Regions from separate parts of the Homo sapiens genome. Here region 2 is linked to region 1. Evidence: promoter capture Hi-C in human tissues and cell types (Jung and others, 2019). All regions are on one chromosome and are shown on one strand. Each heading gives the region's core, a stretch centred on a gene start or on the middle of the fragment in contact. The rest is flanking DNA. Distances are from core to core; before and after follow the strand shown. Region 1 holds the start of DSCC1 (DNA replication and sister chromatid cohesion 1). Region 2 overlaps DEPTOR (DEP domain containing MTOR interacting protein).

What was found. The method cuts DNA at HindIII sites, captures the fragments that hold promoters and counts their contacts. A contact is called where the count stands out against the background at its distance.
Region 2: a fragment that was not itself captured here is called in contact with the fragment with the promoter of DSCC1 in region 1 in 2 of the 25 tissues and cell types used here (dorsolateral prefrontal cortex and hippocampus).

What each region holds. Positions count from the first base shown.
Region 1 is chr8:119,854,459-119,858,365 of GRCh38, reverse strand. It overlaps DSCC1 (DNA replication and sister chromatid cohesion 1), which reads left to right and starts at 2,472. Exons shown (of 9, transcript NM_024094.3): 1 at 2,472-2,752. The coding sequence starts at 2,571. It overlaps LOC105375728 (a long non-coding RNA gene), which reads right to left. Exons shown (of 4, transcript XR_928590.3): 2 at 3,564-3,691; 3 at 2,487-2,960. RefSeq lists a silencer at 2,321-2,380 and an enhancer at 2,491-2,800. The HindIII fragment of the contact is 8,457 bases long and covers 1-3,907 here.
Region 2 is chr8:120,044,358-120,048,068 of GRCh38, reverse strand. The region is part of intron 8 of DEPTOR (DEP domain containing MTOR interacting protein); the gene reads right to left. Among named protein-coding and RNA genes, the nearest start is that of COL14A1, 79 kb to the left of the region's middle. RefSeq lists an enhancer at 1-463. The HindIII fragment of the contact is 3,861 bases long and covers 1-3,711 here.

The DNA of each region.
Region 1 (3,907 bases), core at 1,223-3,722:
CTAGAGAACTTCATGTTCAGAAAATTAATCTGACTGTGGTATACAGATGGAGGGGCAGTGGGAAGGGGGATGAAAAGCAGGAAAATCTGTTAGAAAGTCACAGTAATAAGAATAAGGACCGAAAGCAAGGCCACATTTTCAGTTTTTGGAATGTCTGGAAGTGACTGTGTTCCTTTTTTTTTTTTTTTTTTTTGAGACAAGAGTCTCACTCTGGAGTGCAGTGGCATGATCTCCGCTCACTTCAACCTCCGCCTCCTGGGTTCAAGCGATTGTCCTGTCTCAGCCTCCAGAGTAGCTGGGATTACAGGCGCCTGCCACCATGCCCGGCTAATTTTTTTGTACTTTTAGTAGAGACGGGGTTTCGCCATGTTGGCCAGGCTGGTCTCGAACTCCTGACCTCAGGTGATCTGCCCACCTTGGCCTCCCAAAGTGTCGGCATTACAGGCGTGAGCCACTGCACCTGGCCGTCACTGTGCTCTTTATTGAATAAAAAAGAAGAGAAGAGAGGAAAAGAAAAGGAAAAAAGTTCATACATGATTCTATAATATGAACTAAGATTTAGTAAATAAAATTCTCATTTCATGCCATGAAACACAATATATGAGCAATATAATCAAGAGTACAGTGTCCAAGAGAACAGAATCAATTTTAGCTGATTCTGTTCTCATGAACAGAACTTTTGAAATTTATTATAACTGTTCATTTTTTTACCTGATAAAGAATATTTTTTTCCTGCTACCAGATGAATGATTAAGCCAGCTTCAATCGTTTTTTGAAAAGGTACAGAAAATTTCTTACTTTAGAAAAACATATTAACATAATTTTAAAGAATGAATTAATAAAAACTATCATCATTTTGTCTTATGAGAGGAACACAGGTCCAGCTCCCTGACAGAATATCAAATTAATGGCAATAATTTCATACCATTAATTGGAAATTAAATTCATAATGATTAATACATAAAAACAAAAAGAACTGCTGCCATTTATTAAGCAGCCATGCATTTTAGAATGTACATCTTAAGAATGTAGGTCTTATGTGCTTTTTTATCGATAAGGAAGTTGTACTCAGAGAAATTAGGTAAATTGCCTTAGGTCACAAAGTTCTGAAGAGAGTTGGGATTCGCAGCCATGCCTGTCTGATGTAAATGTCAGGGTTCTAGTTGACACTGCTTCTAGTTGTAGGGAATGTTTCCCATTTAATAGAGCAACTACAATGGTTGATTCCCTTCAATAATAACTTCTTATCAGGCAACCACTGTCACATTCAGGATTTCATTCCACCGAATTCCTATGCATTCAAATGTAAAAGAGGCTAGTGAAGAAGTAGGTCACATGAACCAATCTTTCCACCACCAACGAAAGCACTGCCCAGACTCCTGGGATGCCCTACTCTGGTATTTTCGTATCATTTTACCCAAGAATTGAAAAAAATGTCTGCTCAGATCCTTTGAATTCAACACCTTACCCACCACTTTCTTTCACTTCAAGCAAGGTCTGATTTGCACTAACTAGTAGGAGGTCACCATCTCTTAAGTGATTCCTCCCAGACTATTTTAGCTCTCAGGGACAGCCAGGGCCCTCAACGATTCCCTAAGCATCTCTGGGAAAGTTTACACATTACGCTGTTACAAGCAATTCATGTATGTGTGCATAGTGAAAACCTTTTCTCTTAAAACTCTTAATACTGAAGTTCCCCAAACCTTTGGAAAATGTACAAGTCACAGATGCTCCTGTGACTTGTTTTTCCCTTCGGGTGCGTCCTCAACCTTGCTTAAATAAACCTCTATTGAACGAGACCTGCATCAGTCACTTTTCGGTTAACACTAGGTATTCAACGAATAGACTAGTCCCGCCGTTGTCTCCAGATATGATGGTGCCCTGACCCAAAGAAGCGAGATACTCCTTCCCAGGGCCTCGCTCCCGAGCATGGGTTATTTGCACAAAACCCCGCAGGAAGCTTTTAGAGCCACAGTCGGCTAGGCTGGAGTCAGACTCTGTTACCTCCTGACTCTGCCATCACGAGCAAGGAGCCTGCTTCCTCATTGGCAAAAGGGAATGACCAAGGCACCACCTTACAGGGTTGTGGCAACGGGCTCATGGAATTATACATGCCAAGTGGTTATCACAGGGCCCGCCACTGGCGGAAGGTGAGACAATGTGGACGGCGAGGAAATGGGAGCATCGGCTGGAAACCAGGGACGGAGATCGGGGATGGGGGGCGGGCAAGGGGACAGCGGAAAGGGTGGGCGAGGGATCCGTGTCCCAACCCGCCGAGTCGCAGCTCTGCCCCTGCGAGCTTCCGCCGAGACCGCCCCCCGGGAAGCCGCGTTTCCTTCCTGCAGTCGCGGTCCGGCGTGGGGCACGGAGGGGCTCGCGCTCCCAGAAGCCGGCAGGCCTTCCCGCGGGCGGGCCCGCAGCGCGCTCCGCCCCGGAAACACGCCCATGGCCGCCTTGGCGCGCTTTCAAACGCTCAGGTTTCCTACCTTCCGGCTGCTTGGGAACTTCTTTCTTGCCCGCCAAGCCCGCAGCCACCCGGGCGCGGCGGGACTCCTAGACCCGGCGCTGCGATGAAGAGGACCCGCGACGAGGTGGATGCGACGCTGCAGATCGCCAAGCTGAATGCGGCCGAGCTGCTGCCGGCGGTGCACTGCCTGGGCTTCGGCCCTGGGGCCAGCGGCGCTGCAGCCGGCGACTTCTGCCTGCTGGAGCTGGAGCCCACGCTGTGCCAGCAGCTGGAGGATGGACACAGGTGAGCCCTGGTCACGCGGCGCCCCCAGCCTCTGGCCGGCCACGTTATTTTCTCAGCGGGGAAAGTCGGGATAAGAAAACAGGGCCAGAGAGATGCACTGACCTGGCCGGGGGCTCATAGCAAGCTGCCTGTTCCCGAGGAGTCCACGCCTCCGGTGGGCCGTCCAGTTAGCTGCACTGCGGTGATGAGTAGCACTGGTCCAGCTGACCTTGGAGGCATGTGTCAGCGGGAGCAAGTCAGGAAATACTAATACAACCTCCGTGAAGTTTTTGAAGAGTTACCGGTGATTACAGGGACTCTACAGGACACCTGTCACTCTACCTTAAAATACAGTGGTGATACCCAATGTTTATAGAACTCTTGCCTTCCACTTATATTTATTTTACTCAGATGATAGATAGGAAGTGCTGGGAATCAGCTTACAGACTTGGTAATTGGGTGAGACCCCTACCCACCCCGAAGCAAACTTGCTTAGTAGGGATCTGAAGCTGTTTCTAATTCCAGGTCAGATACAAACTTGCTGCAAGATCATTGATTAGAAGTCGAAGTTGAGGTAGTTTTTTAAAGGCAGTCTTGAGAAGTCTAGAGAATCGTTATATCCCTCCACCCTGTGCAGCCCCAGCTCCTGCAAAATAGGGAGCTCCAGCTTGATTCTCTTTTGCACAATTGGTCCTCCGACACCTATATTTTATTAGGCTATTTTTTCTCTTTTTTCTTAATGGAATCCTTTAGGCTGTCTTTCAGTTTTCGTACTTTGCCCACCAAAGAGTGTTAGAGTAAACTGGCCATTCTTCAGATACCTGCTATATACCTCAAAGTACCTTTAAGGGAACTGAAAGAACTTCACTAGTCTGTTTCCATCCCGGTTCAGTTGGTGGAGAGTTGAGAAAGGAACTCAGGTGTGAGGACTTTCTCTCGGTCCAGTTCTAGTTAATCTAGCTGGCAAAAACAAAACAAAACAAAAACAAAAAAATAAAAACAGGCCCTGGAAACGTGTGTTTTTAATTTTGGGGTGTAGGGAGTGATGGTATAAACAAAATATTTCAAAGTGGGGGTAGTGCAGTTAGAGAAATAAATGTTAAAGACTAGGTACTTGGGCCTATTAAGCATTATTAGCATTAGGAATCTAAAAAACCTTTTATTCTTTTTACTTAA
Region 2 (3,711 bases), core at 598-3,097, 190 kb before region 1:
GGGATCACATTTCACCATTTACTTTTTTTTTTTTTTGACATGGAGTCTCCCTCTGTTGCCCAGGCTGGAGTGCTGTGGCACGATCTCCTCCATCTCCCAGGCTCAAGCGATCCTCCCACCTCAGCCTCCCGAGTAGCTGGGATTACAGGTGTGTGCCACCATGCCCAGCTAATTTTTTGTATTTTTGGTAGAGAGGGGGTTCGCCATGTTGGCCAGTCTGGTCTTGAACTCTTGACCTCCGGTGATCCTCCCACCTTGGCCTCCCAAAGTGCTGGGATTATAGGTGTGAGCCACCACACTTGGCCTCAGCATTTAGTCTTAACCACAATTGTGTGTCCTCTGTCACACATCATGTTTGTTTTAATTGACCAGCATTTAAAATTTAGAAAATCTGCCAGGCACAGTAGCTCATGCCTGTAATCCCAGCACTTTGGGAGGCCGAGGCAGGTGGATCACTTGAGGTGGATCAGCCTGGCGGGTGGATCAGCCTGGTCAACATGGTGAAACCCCGTCTCTACTAAAAATACAAAAAAATTAGCTGGGCGTGGTGGCGGATGCCTGTAATCCCAGCTACTTGGAAAGCTGAGGCAGAAGAATCACTTGAACCCGGGAGGTGGAGGTTGTAGTGAGCCGAGATCACACCATTGCACTCCAGCCTGGGCAACAACAGTGAAACTCCATTTCAAAAAATAAAAGTAAAAAATAAAATAAAATTTGGAAAATCTTTGCATAAAAATCCAGACTCTGGGCTGGGTGCAGTGGCTCACATCTGTAATCCCAGCACTTTGGGAGGCCGAAGCGGGCAGATCACCTGAGGCCAGAAGTTCAAGACCAGCCTGGCCAACATGGTGAAACCCCATCTCTACTAAAAATACAAAAATTAGCCAGGTGTAGTGGCACACCTGTAATCCCAGCTACTCAGGAGCCTGGGGCAGGAGAATTGCTTGAACCTGGGAGGCAGAGGTTGCAGTGGGCCGAGATTCTGCCACTGCACTCTAGCCTGGGCAACAAAGCAAGACTCTGTCTCAAAATAAATAAATAAATAAAAACCCAGACTCTGGCTTCTCTGGGACAATCAGAAGCTGTGATCATACCAGGTGTAGATGGCCATGTGGCCATGGCTGAGTAGAGCCTGCCTGTTCTACACATGGCATGGACACTCATTTGCCACAGTCCTTACGGCTTCCTATCTTCCTAACACCTGGCTGACAGGCATGTGAGTTTGTGGTCCCTGATCTATGGCCACCAGAGGGAAAAGCGTTGAAGACAGGGTGGCTTGAAGCTTCAAGAACTGAAGGACCCCAATGTTTGTCAACAGATGAAAGGAGGTTGGGCGTGGTGGCACATGCCTGTAATCCTAACACTTTGGGAGGCTGAGGCAGAAGGATTGCTTGAGCCAGCCTGGACAACATAGTGAGACTCCGTCTCTACAAAATATATATATCTATATATTTAAAAAATTTAAAAAGACAGATGAAAGGAGAAATATAATTCAGTATATCCATACAGTGGAATATTATTCGGCCATAAAATGGAACATACAACATGCTACAACATGGGTGAGCCCTGAAAACATTATGCTAAGTAAAAGATGCCAGTCAGAATAGACCATAGAGTGTAAGAGCCCATTTATATGAAATGTCCAGAGTAGGCAAATCCACAGAGACAGCAAGTAGATTATTGATTACTTAGGGTTGGGAGCAGGGGTGGTGGGGTGGGGCATGGAAGTGGTTGGTAATGGGTACGGGGTTTCTTTTAGGGGTGATAAAAATGCTCTAAAATTGTTGTAATAGTGACATAAATCTGTGAATATATTAAAAACTACTGAATTCTACAGTTTACATGGATAAATTGCATGGTATGTGAACTATATCTCCATAAAGCTCTTAGTTAAGTAATGAAACAAAACAAAACAATAAACATTGAAGGGAAGAGGGCCCTGATGCTAACAGTGGGTAGATTCTTGGTCTACAAGGATCTCCCTTCTGTCTAGAAGGGAGAGGCTGGTTTGGTTCAAGATGGGGTCCTGTGCACCTCTTGATTGCAGAGCTCTTGGAGGCCTCAGAAGCTAGGATGGTCAAGGCTGTATGTGTGGGAGGATGAGCACCTGGTGAACTCTGCACAGGACCTTTACCCAGGTGTTCAGGGGTAGGAAAAGGGCAGTCAGCAGGGCTGTCTGGCCAAGGGCCAGTGGCACCAGTCACTAATACTGGTCAGGGTTCATTTTACTGGACTGCCTAAAAGCCCTGGGATGGGGGCTGTGGTGGGTTATGGTGCACATGATCTCAAACGGGAAGGACATAGGCAAGGGACACCAAAATGATCTGACATTGAACTTGTCATCAACCTTGGTGATGGTCACTTCAACTGAATTTAATTTTAGAAAAACAGGCCGGGCACGTGCAGTGGCTCACGTCTGCAATCCTAGCACTTTGGGAGGCCAAGGCAGGCGGATCACTCGAGCTCAGGAGTTCAAGTCCAGCCTAGGCAACATGGCGAAACTCTGTTTCTACAAAAATAAAAATAAAAAATTAGCCAGGTGTGGTGGCACACGCCAGTAGTCCCAGCTACTTGGGGGACTGAGGCAAGAGTATCGCTTCAACCCAGGCGGTTGAAGCTGCAGTGAACCAAGATCATGCCACTGCATTCCAGCCTGAGTGACAAAGTGAGATCCTGCCTAAAAAACATAAAAGATAAAAAATAAAAAAATTAGAAAAACAGAAAAAGGTCATTTCTTGTTTTTGTTTTCTAAGTGTATGCACACACACATTTCTCAAATGCCAAAGTTTGTGACTAATTCACTCTTTCATAAAGTAAGGCTGATTCAGGGCTACCCTAGGCATAAAGACAGTCTCACTCCCTTGCGTTCCCACATGCTGTCCAGAGCAGCCAGTCAAGAGTGGGGTCAGAGCAAGCACACCGTGAACTGCTCATTTCACACAAACCTTCTTACTTGTGCTGCCACCTGAGCACATCTCTAGGGGTATAGAGGATCAGGTGAAGACCCTCTGTCACAGGTGTTCTGGAGAAAAAGCCCATGACATCTTGTACCAACTAGTGTGTGGAGAACTTAAATAAGATTTATTAGGTAGGTGCAAAAGCAATTGTGGTTTTGCAACTTTTAATTGCAAAAACTGCAGTTACTTTTGCACCAACCTAATAAATACCAGCATCTTTGCCTTCACGAAGCTTACAATTTAGTTTAGGAGGCAGAGTATCACAGGCAGGATCCTTTTCAAAATAGCAGGCAACCTCTCAATCAATTCAGTCATATATTGAAAAACCTAGTATTTCTCAAGTGCCAATCCAAGTACTTTACACACTTAATAAAAATTGTCCTAAAAGTCATATGGTGACACATCTGTTGGTTTTTGGTTATCCAGCTTCATTTCACTACAGTTGACTTGATATTCTTTTCAGGTATCACCTTTCCTCTGCTGTGGGCAGTATGGATAGGAATGTCAACCAACATGCCCTGCCCTCCCCCTATTCACAGGGTCATCTGACCCTAAGCTTGGCCAGTCAGACTCTGTCTCCTGGACCACTGACTGTGGAGCTGAGTAACACAGGAAAGTTCATTTGCTCTGGTATTTGGGTCCCCAGATCTGCCTTGGTTCCTGTCCTTTATCAAGCTTGGTTCTCCAGGCTAGGCACGGTGGCTCATGCCTGTAATCCCAGCACTTTGGGAAGCCAAGGCTGGTAGATCACCTG